Linked DNA regions of Homo sapiens: region 1 is linked to region 2. The links are contacts of gene promoters, found by promoter capture Hi-C in human tissues and cell types (Jung and others, 2019). All regions are on one chromosome and are shown on one strand. Each heading gives the region's core, a stretch centred on a gene start or on the middle of the fragment in contact. The rest is flanking DNA. Distances are from core to core; before and after follow the strand shown. Region 1 overlaps KCTD19 (potassium channel tetramerization domain containing 19). Region 2 holds the start of CES4A (carboxylesterase 4A).

Region 1 (6,106 bases), core at 1,239-3,738, 310 kb after region 2:
GCTCTCCTTTTAAAAAAAAATTTTTTTTCAAGATAGAGTTTTGCTTTTGTTGCCCAGGCTGGAGTGCAATGGCACAATCTTGGCTCACTGCAACCTCTGCCTCCCAGGTTCCAGCGATTCTCCTGCCTCAGCCTCCTGAGTAGCTGGGATTACAGGCACCTGCCACCACGCCCGGCTAATTTTTGTATTTTTGGTAGAGATGGGGTTTCACCAGGCTGGTCTCGAACTCCTGACCTTAGGTGATCCACCCGCCTCAGCCTCCCAAAGTGCTGGGATTACAGGCGTGAGCCACACGCACAGGCTTTTAAAATTCTTTTCTTCAATTACCATCAAATCTTCATAAGCAGGGACTCTCCTTAAGCCACCTCAGAGCCCAAGCAGGAAGGGGACCTCTGGTGACAGGCCAGTACAATCAAGTCACCCCAGCCTTGCAACAGCTGCCACCTCTAGTTTCTCAGAAGTGACACCCTGGGCTGGCAGGGGCCTGTCCTGGCCACTCCTCTCTTCATTGCCCTGGCATCACTGCAAGCCAAATCCTGAACATTTTGGAACTCGAAGAAACTCCAGATTCCTCTGTTGAACTAAGACGTATCAAATGGGGCTGAGGGCTGGAAATCTTTATAAAATTTTAAGTTGAGAACTTTTGGGGCCAGCCTTTGATGCATGTCCAAAGAGTGGACATTTGTCATCCCAACCTTGACAGACCAACTTAGGGCTCACAGGCAAGAGTCCAAGAAGGCCCCTCCAAGCAGGGCTGGAGCCACTAATAGGGAAGGTGACAATACTGCAGGCAGGGCTTTGAGGGAGCAGAGGCAGCATCCTGGCACAGCGATTTTCAGCACAGTTCCCTGGCCACCTTCCCTTAGCTGGCTACACAAGCTCTCTCTCCAGTTCAGTCCCTGTAGCCCCTGCTGTCTCCTGGGCTTCTCCACCTGGATGTCCCTCGGCATTTCACACTCAGTATGTGCCCTTCCCCAAGCTCTGCTCTTTCTCTTACCCACACCTCAGTAAGGGCCTATCCACCCCCTTGCAGTCCCACAGGCTAGAAACCTGGCTTCTCCTTGGCCCATCCCTCCTTCCCTCCACTACCTGCCTAGCCTGCTTCCCCTAGCCTAGAAAGAACTCCAAGTGGCTTCGAATACCTAGCTCCTGCTGCATTTCCTCTGCTCCTGGAGCAAACTTTCTGATGGGCACACCTGACCCCGTGCTCTTGTCTAAAATCCTTCAGACGCTGCTCACTCCCATCCTGGTCAGAATGGAGTACCACGTCCTGAAGCTGGCCCACGAGGCCTGTCCTTATGACTTCTGTCTTCAGCCTCATCTTTTATCACGTCTGCATGTGAAGCCTGGCCTCCAGCTAGACCCATGCCCTGCGCTTCCAAACATCCTGGACTTCTCCTTCCTTCCCCTGCTGACTCCCCAGCCCTCAGCCTCTTTTGTGCTCCTGCTTCATAGGCACCTCCTTCCCACAGCACTCATCCCTTCGCCGTGTGTGTTCTCCTGGCCCCTCCAGCCATGCCAATGTGCCAGTCATTTCTGTGTCTGCTGCCTGGCACAGAGATGGCATTGGTGAGCGGGGGGGTCTAGTCCTCCTTTGTCACTAACTTGCTCTGCCATCTTGGCCAAAGAGTTTGCCTTCTCTGTTGTGAATAAGACTTAGATCAAAGGGGGACAGGACTCACCTCTCTCCTTGGTCCTCTGCTTGCTCCAGTCCTTCAGGGTGCCAGCTCTTTTTGGGGGTAAGTATGGCTTGAAGGTTGGCTCTGGCCCCTTGTCTTTCGCTCCAGCTCCAGCCCCTGCCTGTGGTCCTGGATCCTTCTCTGAGGCTGTGGAATGGGCTTTCCAGGCAGCTGAGGTGCTGGGCTGGGAAGCAGCCTCGCTTCCCAAGGGGAGCTGCAGGGTGGCCTCCTCCAAGGGGCTGCTCCGTGTGGCTGTCAGTGGCTGGAATTCCCACTGTTTGCAATTGACCATGTCCCATTCTCTCACCAGGGAGATGAGTTTTTGCATGGGAGTGGCGGGAGGGTCTTTGGTTTCAGATTTCTGTGTGAGGTTGATTGTGGTGCATTTCTTCTTTGGGGGGCTCTCAGGGTGGCTCCCCCAGTGTCCAGGATTGGTACACAAGCCACGGCAGTGTGAGTATGTGCTAGGGTTGCCAGCCCTCTTGGCATTTCGGCATAGGGACACCTGGATGGGCCGAGTGTACTGCTCAGCCTCATCCATCTGGTTGGACCTGACCAGGTTTCCCTTAGCCTTGTTCCATGGAGTCCTGTCACTGCAGTCTTCGAAGTCCACAGGCATGTAGGCTGTGGTCTGGGGAGGGAAGGGCACAGTAACTCTGGATAGGTTGGGCATGGACATCAACGCCTTGCCCAAGATCTAATAAGCTGGGCCTCCAAGACTTCACTTGCTCTCCCTGAACAATCCCATCCCTGACAGGGGTCACCCATTTGAGCTTTGCTCAGGCTGAGTGGGGATGGTGCCAGCCCAGTGGCCTGTCATTCCAACAGGAGATACAATCAGCATCGCAGGCCACAAGTGGCCAGTAAGTTCCTGTGCCTCCTTCACGGTTCAGAAGCCAGGTCCTGTCCTAGGAACCCATGTAGGCTCTGCTCTTTCATTTTGCTGCACCCACCAGTAGCTGAACCTACCCCCATCCACCCTGAGCCCGGTGGTAGTGGTTTTTGAGGATAACACCAACCAGAGGAGGCTGGTGCTTACTTCTTTAGTGTCTCTACTGAACTCCACCAGTGACCCTGGCCCTTCTGTCACCACATGCAGCCTCCTGATGGAAAAAGCTTCTTCATTTTCAGATTCTTTCTCCTGAGTCCATGACCTGCAGAAACCAAGAGGGGTTGGTTAGTGAGTAGAGACTTCCATCAGGCCATTGGCCAGTTGGTCAGATCTGCTCTTTGGCTGGGAGTTAATGCTAGACAGCAGGGAAGAAGGGGCTCTTAAAGGGTTTTGCCTAGGTCACTGGCCAATCCTGGGCCTGCTTCACTCCCTCAACCCCAAGGAGATCAGGATCCTCTAGGAGTAGGACTTAGGACAGGATTTCAAGAGGAATTTAAAGGACCAAATTCTAAACATAGAGTCGTGATAAAGTTTTCTTACTTGTATGCTTCACATTGTGCAAGGGCTTCTGAGAGGGATGGAATGTGGTATTCCTCCACCTCCTGGCAGAAGAGGGGCCATTCCCTGCAAACAACAAGGAGATATCCAGCTGGGCAGCTAGGATGAGGGTGTGGGAGGGAGCATGAGCTCCTGGAACTGCCGCTGCCAACAGTTCCCACGATGGAAATAAAATAACCTCCTCCCTGAAGGCTGCAACTCAGGTCTCCTTTGTTGCTAAGGGAGGGGTCAGCCTTCGTGATTTCATCTTACTGCGTCCTTGCTTCACTTACTTAAATTCAGATGGTAAAAACAGTTTGCCAAGTCTCAGGAAGTTGAGAATGTGTCGGAACATCTGGCCATCCCCGTGGATGAGCAGGGTTTGTCCATATGTGATCCAGTACACTCTCTGAGGGTTGGACAGCAGTTCTGGATACTGGAGGGGGTTGGACACCGGACTCAGTCTCAGAGGCTAGGTCTTTGCGAAGGGGCAGGTCAATCTTCTCTCACTCCCCTTTTCCAACTACACTAGAGCAGAGGCTTTGAGATTCCATTTCCCTGTCTTGTCAGTCACAAGGAACCATGGTGGGGAGCAGAGCTTCCAGGGAGAAGCACATCATCCCTGCTTCAACTTTTGATGGCCCCTAGACCACCCTCTCAAGGCATTTGGAAGCCCACCGTACCTCCTTCTCAGTCCAGGTCCCTCAGAGCTGGCCCCCTCCCTATGCAAACTCTGGAGGGCCTTCCCAGCAGGCCACTCGGTCCACTTGTGCTCTGTTTTGTTTTGTTTTTTGAGGCAGAGTCACACTCCGTCACCCAGGTTGGAGTGCAGTGGCGCGATCTCAGCTCACTGCAACTTCTATCTCCTGGGTTCAAACAATTCTGGTGCTTCAGCCTCCCAAGTATCTGGGATTACAGGCACGTGCCATCACACCCAGCTAATTTTTGTATTTTTAGTACAGACGGGGTTTCACCATGTTGGTCAGGCTGGTCTTGAACTCCTGATCTCGTGATCTGCCCACCTCAGCCTCCCAAAGTGCTGGGATTACAGGCATGAGCCACCGTGCCTGGCGGGAAAGCCTTTGTTCTAAGCAAGTGCTGGAAGCTGTGTGAGGGCCAGGTGATGGCCCCCAGAGCAGCTCAGGTGGTGATGCCAGATGGGGAGCAGGGCAGCCGAGGCCGTCAGTACCTTCAGCAGTGTCTGCAGGGTGGTTGCGTACCAGTGGCTTCCAACATACACTTTGATGATCTGTTGTGGGGAATACACAGTGATCTCTGCCGTCCACTCATCTATGGGAATCCAGGAGATAGAACACATCATCATATGGCCAGAAGGGAAAGCAGGTAGGGCCCTTTGGTTAGTAGTGTATTTCACGTTAAGTCTCAATATCTTTCCTCAGTCATATTGTGTTGCCTAGTCTGAGAAGCAGCAGAAATCCCTGACATAAACCTTGCTTGCTGCAAGGTTTCCTGGGTGGTGAGGCGGGAAAGGGCACTGCCCCTCTTCACCTGACCCTCCTCCCTCAGGAAAGCTGGGTTGATGACCCTGTCCACCTACAATGCCAGCTGCCTCCGGTTTCTGGTTGGGTGTGTCCTGAGTGTGTAGCTTTTCATGTGGCCACTCAGACTGAAGCTAGGAATCTCTCTCTGTGTGTTTATGTTCGTGGTTTGGCAAATGTCATGGAGCCAACTCTCATCAAATCCCTGTCACTTTTATGAGACTAAGCCTCTAGGCATGTCTGGAGAATGGGGGCTGTATGCTGGAAAGATGAACCCATAACCCTTTTCCTGGAGATGACTATATGTAGGCCTTGTTCTGATGTTTGGGAAGCAGTTTCTAATGAGCTCTGTAATGAATGAAGGGTATATAACTAGATTATATAACCAAGAGATAAGATGTATAGAACTAGACCGTGAACTCCAGGAAGAAAGGGACTAAGTCTGTGTTGCTTACTTCTGTGCCGCCAGTGTCTACTGCTGTCCTGGTATATGACCGGTACTCAATAAATGTTGGATGCTGCTAAATGATAGTAATACAGCTTAAACTTTGTCCCCCAAATTTTTGGTAATAAGAAGTTATAGGCAGCTGGTGAAAACAACATTAGCTTTGGACTCAGTCAAACCCCAGCTTGACCACTGTGTAACTTGAGTGAGTTTTCTTCTCTGAACCTATTTTTTGGCTGTTAAATGGACCCAGGGACAGCTCTGTTTAACAGAGGAGGCTCCTCCCTGCATGGCTGTGAGAAGCACAGCAAGTCAGCTCCCAGGGTCAAGGCAGGCCTGCCCTGGGGGTCCTGCGTGGCCCCAGACTGGGTAACAGCCCTGTCTGCTGCTGGAGACGAATTGTGGGCTTGGAGGTGAGGAGGGAGCACTTAATATGAAAGTTTCCCTTTTGTAAAAATCCAAAATATTGGCCTGGCTTTCCCCTCCTCCTCCATCTACAGTTCCTCGTCCTGGCCACATCATCTATTCCCTCCAATCTCCCAGATACTCCCCTGATGCTAAATTCAAACCTAGAAGCTTTCTCACTTACTGAGCACATCCATGGGTGCCAAAGTCCTTGGCTCCAGATGAGTCTTCAAAGCAACTTTGATTGGCTCGTAGGTGATGTCCCTTTTGTCTAGGAAGGCACAGAGCTCATATACCTCGGAAATGGTCTCTGTCAGGGGCAGCCGGCAAGTCCCCAGCCAGTTCCTGCCCAGAGGAAAGGTCTGTCATGAAGAACATCAGCATTGTACCCCAAGAGAGTCGAGCCTGTAAACTTTCCATGCCTAGGATGCCTTGCCGCAACACTGGCTTAAATCAGGCATCATTAACATCGTTTCCTTGTATTTTTTTTTTAGATGGAGTCTCACTCTGTCGCCAGGCTGAAGTGCAGTGACGCAATCTTGGCTCACTGCAACCTTTGCCTCCCAGGTTCAAGCAATTCTCCTGCCTCAGCCTCCCAAGTAGCTGGAACTACAGGCACCCGCCACCACGCCTGGCTAATTTTTTGTAT
Region 2 (5,355 bases), core at 2,355-4,854:
GAAAAGATGATACTGTACCAGGACTACGTGGTTGACGTGGCTGCCCACTCAACATCCCCTGTGCCCCATGTGAGCATCAGATGGGGCACACATGTATCCTGGGCACCTCATCATGGTATCTGGCCTGGCACGAGTGCTTCCCATATGGGCTGAGTGAAAGGTTGTTGCCCCCCCAGGGACAGGTGGCAGGAGTAGAGCCAGTGGTTGGCAGAACTCGTCCTTGAGGCCCACACAGATGTGGCCAAGGAGCTGCATAGCTGAGTGGGGGAATCTATGTGTGGCTGGCCCCTAGGCCTAGCAGGTGGATTCACAATCTTGTCTGTTTTCCCCACTGCCCCCTTCCCCTGTCCTCTGCCTGACAGCTTGTCCTGTGCATTCTGAACTTTGTCAGATGCTGGGCAGCAAAACAAGCAGCTTCCTCACCTCCCAAAGCCTAATATCCATACTCCTATTGTTGTGGCCACAGCCTATAAGAGAATCTGGCAGAATGAGGCTGTGAGGATAGGCAGGCAGTCAACAGAGAGAGATGTGGTCCAGGCCAGGTGGAGCTGCTGGTAGTCCCTGCTTTCCTGGTCCTGCCCACCCTGTCCTCCCATCCCTATACCTTTAAACCTCACACTGACTGAACCCTCAACTAATGTTCATTTTTTTAAATATGGAAAATACCACTTTGAGAGGCTGAGTCAGGTGGATCACCTGAAGTCAGGAGTTTGAGACTATCCTGGCCAACGTGGTAAACATGCTACTAAAAATTGAAAAATTAGCTGGCTGTGGAGGTGAGCACCTGAATTCCCAGCTACTCAGGAGGCTGAGGCAGGAGAATTTCTTGAACCCAAGAGGTGGAGACTGCAGTGAGCCAAGATCATGTTATTGCACTCCGGCCTAGGCAACATGAGTGAAACTCCATCTCAAAAAATAAATACATAAATAAATATGGAAAATATGTGGCCGGGCGTGGTGGCTCACGCCTGTAATCCCAGCACTTTGTGAGGCTGAGGCAGGTGGATCACTTGAGATCAGGCGTTCAAGACCAGACTGGCCAACACAGTGAAACCCCGTCTTTACTAAAAATACAAAAATTAGCTGGGGGTGGTGGCACAGGCATGTAGTCCCAGCTACTTGGGAGGCTGAAGCAGGAGAATCGCTTGAACCCAGGAGGCAGAGGTTGCAGTGAGCCGAGATCGGGCCACTGCACTCCAGCCTGGGCAACAGAGTGAGACCCTGTCTCAAAAATAAATAAATAGGCCAGGCACAGTGGCTGTTGCCTGTAATCCCAACACTTTGGGAGGCCGAGGCAGGCGGATCACGAGGTCAGAAGATTGAGACCATCCTGGCTAACATGATGAAACCCTGTCTCTACTAAAAATACAAAAAATTATCTGGGCGTGGTGGCATGCGCCCGTAGTCCCAGCTACTCAGGAGGCTGAGGCAAGAGAATTGCTTGAAACTGGGAGGCAGAGCTTGCAGTGAGCTGAGGTGGCGCCACTGTACTCCAGCCTGGGCGACAGAGTGAGACTCTGTCTCAAAAAAATAAATAAATAATAAAAGTGGGTCTTGTTTTTTGTTTTTTGTTTCGGGGTATTTTGGTTAGAGACAGAGTCTTACTCTGTCTTGACCGCCTGGGCTCAATTGATCCTGCTGCCTCAGCCTCCCAAGTAGCTGGGTCTGCAGGCATGTACCAGCACATCTGGCTGACTTTTTAATTTTTTGTAAAGACAGGGTCTCACTATGTTGTCCAGGCTGGCCTTGAACTCCTGGCCTTAAGCGGTCCTCCTGCCTTGGCCTCCTAAAGTGCTGAGATTACAGGCGTGAGCCACCACAAGTTAACACGTTATGCTGGGGAGGAGTTAGGGGAGAGATTTTCTTTGTAGAGACCTGTTACCTCGCTGTGAGTTCTCACCCCACTTCTTTCCCCTCAAGCCTGTGGGCATGAGACCATGGGGAAGATGAGTGGTGCTTTCCACCATAGGAGGCTCAGCCAGCCAGAGCCTGACTCCACCCCGCCATCGTGAGTGGGGCAGAAGGGGCTGCAATGGGATGGGCCACACCTCTGCTGAGGTGGGGCAAGGGATATTGGAGGTTTGCCCATGTAGACCCCACAGGATAAGTGGCAGAGGCAGGGGTGGGGGGTCATCTTGGGCCTTCATTAGAGGAGCACAGAGCCCAGGCAGCAATGATTGGGCAGTGAATGCCACATTCCTTGGGACTGAGGAAGGGTCACAAGGATGGGAACTGTGGGAGAGGAGTCCCAAATAAAGAGCATCTCCGAAGAACTCAGAAAATTGACTGTGAAAGAAGGAGGTTTAACCATCTGTCAGGCCTATAGAGCAAGAGGCTGTGGGCCAAGGGAGAAGTTCTCTGTTCCCCTGCCTTTTCCCCTCCCCAGCACAGAAGCCCAACAGACCCTCTTTTCACAAAGATGGGCCAGGACCCCAGACTTTGGGGGTACACGAGAGAGGAAACATCTTACCTTTTTTTTGTTCTTTGAGATGGAGTCTCACTCTGTCGCCCAGGCTGGAGTACAGTGACGCCATCTTGGCTCACTGCAAGCTCCGCCTCCTGGTTTCAAGCAATTCTCTTGCCTCAGCCTCCTGAGTAGCTGGAACTACGGGCGCGTGCCACCACGCCCGGATAATTTTTTGTATTTTTAGTAGGGACGGGGTGTTAGCCAGGATGGTCTCGATCTTCTGACCTCGTGACCCGCCTGCCTCAGCCTCCCAAAGTGTTGGGATTACAGGCATGAGCCACCGTGCCTGGCCTATTTATTTTTGAGACAGGGTCTCACTCTGTCACCCAGGCTGGAGTGCAGTGGCCCGATCTCGGCTCACTACAACCTCCGCCTCCCAGGTTCAAGCCATCCTCCTGCCTCAGCCTCCTGAGTAGCTGGGACTACAGGCACACACTACCACGCCCAGCTAATTTTTGTATTCTTTGTTTTAGTAGAGACGGGGTTTCACCATGTTGGCCAGGCTGGTCTCGAACTCCTGACCTCAGGTGATCCACCTGCCTCAGCCTTCCAAAGTGCTGGTATTACAGGCATGAGCCACCACACCCAGCCCCATCTTACCTTTGACTGAAGATGGGACTGCTGTCTCCTTGCTTCCACCTCCCACACTTGCTCCTGTGGCTCCAAACTTCAAACAGGATCTTTCTTTGCCTGGCCCACTCCTCCTCATCCTTTACTTAGAAGATTAGATCTTTTCCAGGGAATCTTCATTCCCACCACCCGGCTCTGGGCTCACTCCTCGGGTGCCCCTCTGGGCTCCCACATTACGGTTGCTTTCAGGTCCAGCTTCCGCATGTGGACTATGAAACTGTGAGGACAGCCAAGGGTCAGCATGTGCGAGGAAAGGCAGGGAAGAGGCTAGACGAGGCACTGGGGAGCAGGGAGGCCCAAGACCCTTAAATCCACAGACAGGAAGCCCTGGCTGAAGGGCCAAGTAACCAGGTGTTCTACTTCAATCTTGGCACCCACTGTATGCTTAGACCTTGACTCACACATGTTCAGCTTTAAGCCACTGCACAGATGAGCAAACGGGGCGGAGATTGCAGGCTGATCAGTTTGAAGAGCCAAGATCATCTAGCGTGACCTGTTGCCCAAGGCAGAGACAAGGCTGTGGGCTGGTCAGAAGCTGGTTACAATTCCTCCCGCCCCAGTACTTGCTGGCAGGGATTAAGAGCAGATAAAAGTGTGCTCACACACTGTAGACACGGCTACCATGCCATCCACAGTGTTGCCATCCACAGTGTTGCCATCACTCCTGCCCACAGCAGGAGCTGGCTGGAGCATGAGGTGGATTCTGTGCTGGAGCCTCACCCTCTGCCTGATGGCGCAGACGGCCTTGGGTAAGACCCCCACCCCTTCCCGAGAGTGTCAGGCAAGACGGGCACAAGGGATGGAGGGACAGGCCCCAGTTCAACCTCTCCTGGGGACAGCAGGGCAGGAGCACTTAGACAAGGCCTGGGCAAATGGAGGGTAGGGTTTCAGGACACTAAACCATCTACCAGCTGGGAGTCTGGACAAGTCCTTTAGCCTCCCTGAACCTCAGGGCTTCTCTGTATTTCCTGCCTCCCGGCACAGGTGAAGGGGTCTGAGAACATGGCCACATCTTTTCTTCCTTCCCACCTTTTTCCTTCCTTCCATCCTTCTTTCCTTCTCCTAAGCAGGAGGCCTGTCTCTGCCCCCTCTCTGCTACATGAACCTCTTTACCACCTTCAAATTTCTCCCCAATATCTTTCTTTTTAAAATGAGTACTACACTTTTTACTGTGAAAACAATCTAATACATTAACAAAAGTTTACTGAGGTATAAGATGTATACAGCAAGGTGCACACATCTTCACTGTATAATTATATCTATTATACTAATTATTATATATATATATATGGTAACCATTATCCAGATCAACATCTAGAACATTTCCAGTGGGTTAGGCATGGTAGCTCATGCCTGTAATTCCAGCACTTTGAGAGGCTGAGGTGGGAGGATTACTTGAGCCCAGGAGTTTGAGACCAGCCTGGGCAAATAGTGAGACCTAGCCTGGGTAAATAGACTCTGTCTCTATTTTTAAAAAACATTTTTTAAAAAGTTTTTTTAACTTACAAGGATACACCTGTAATCCCAGCACTTTGGGAGGCCGAAGCGGGCAGATCACCTGAGGTCAGGAGTTTGAGACCAGCCTAACCAATATTATTACCCCGTCTCTACTAAAAATACAAAACTAGCCAGGCATGGTGGCACATGCCTGTAATCCCAGCTACTCAGGAGGCTGAGGCAGGAGAATCGCTTGAAGCCAGGAGGCAGAGGTTGTAGTGAGCCGAGATCGTGCCATTGCACTCCAGCCTGGGCAACAAGAGCGAAACTCTATCTCAAAAAAAAAAACAAAAAACCATCTCCAGCGTCCCATGTACTCCTTCTCAGTCAATACTCAAAGTTACCACTAGTCTGACCTCTATCATAAATAAATTTTGCCCATATATACATATATCCATTATTTTAAATTTGAAGGAAACTTTGCTTACTCCGCTTTTAACATTTTGGCGCATTTTCTTTTCATCTTTTCTTTTTTTTTTTTTTTTTTTTTGAGACGGAGTCTCGCCCTGTCACCCAGACTGGTGTGCAATGGTGCCATCTCCGCTCACCGCAACCTCCACCTCCCGGGTTCAAGCAATTCTCCCCACCTCAGCCTCCCAAGTAGCTGGGACTACAGGCGTACACCACAAGCCCAGCTAATTTTTGTATTTTTTTAGTGGAGATGGGGTTTCGCCATGCTGGCCAGGCAGGTCTCGAAATTCTGACCTGAGATGATCCACCTGCCTCGGCCTCCCAAAGTGCTGGGACCGCAGGCATGAGCC

Evidence for each region. The method cuts DNA at HindIII sites, captures the fragments that hold promoters and counts their contacts. A contact is called where the count stands out against the background at its distance.
Region 1: a fragment that was not itself captured here is called in contact with the fragment with the promoter of CES4A in region 2 in 1 of the 25 tissues and cell types used here (spleen).

Annotation. Positions count from the first base shown.
Region 1 is chr16:67,291,862-67,297,967 of GRCh38, forward strand. KCTD19 (potassium channel tetramerization domain containing 19) reads right to left here. Exons shown (of 16, transcript NM_001100915.3): 7 at 5,642-5,802; 8 at 4,298-4,398; 9 at 3,402-3,544; 10 at 3,112-3,195; 11 at 2,719-2,833; 12 at 1,683-2,310. Among named protein-coding and RNA genes, the nearest start is that of PLEKHG4, 15 kb to the left of the region's middle. The HindIII fragment of the contact is 3,446 bases long and covers 766-4,211 here.
Region 2 is chr16:66,984,985-66,990,339 of GRCh38, forward strand. It overlaps CES4A (carboxylesterase 4A), which reads left to right and starts at 3,605. Exons shown (of 14, transcript NM_001364782.1): 1 at 3,605-3,846. The coding sequence starts at 3,789. The HindIII fragment of the contact is 42,626 bases long and covers 1-5,355 here.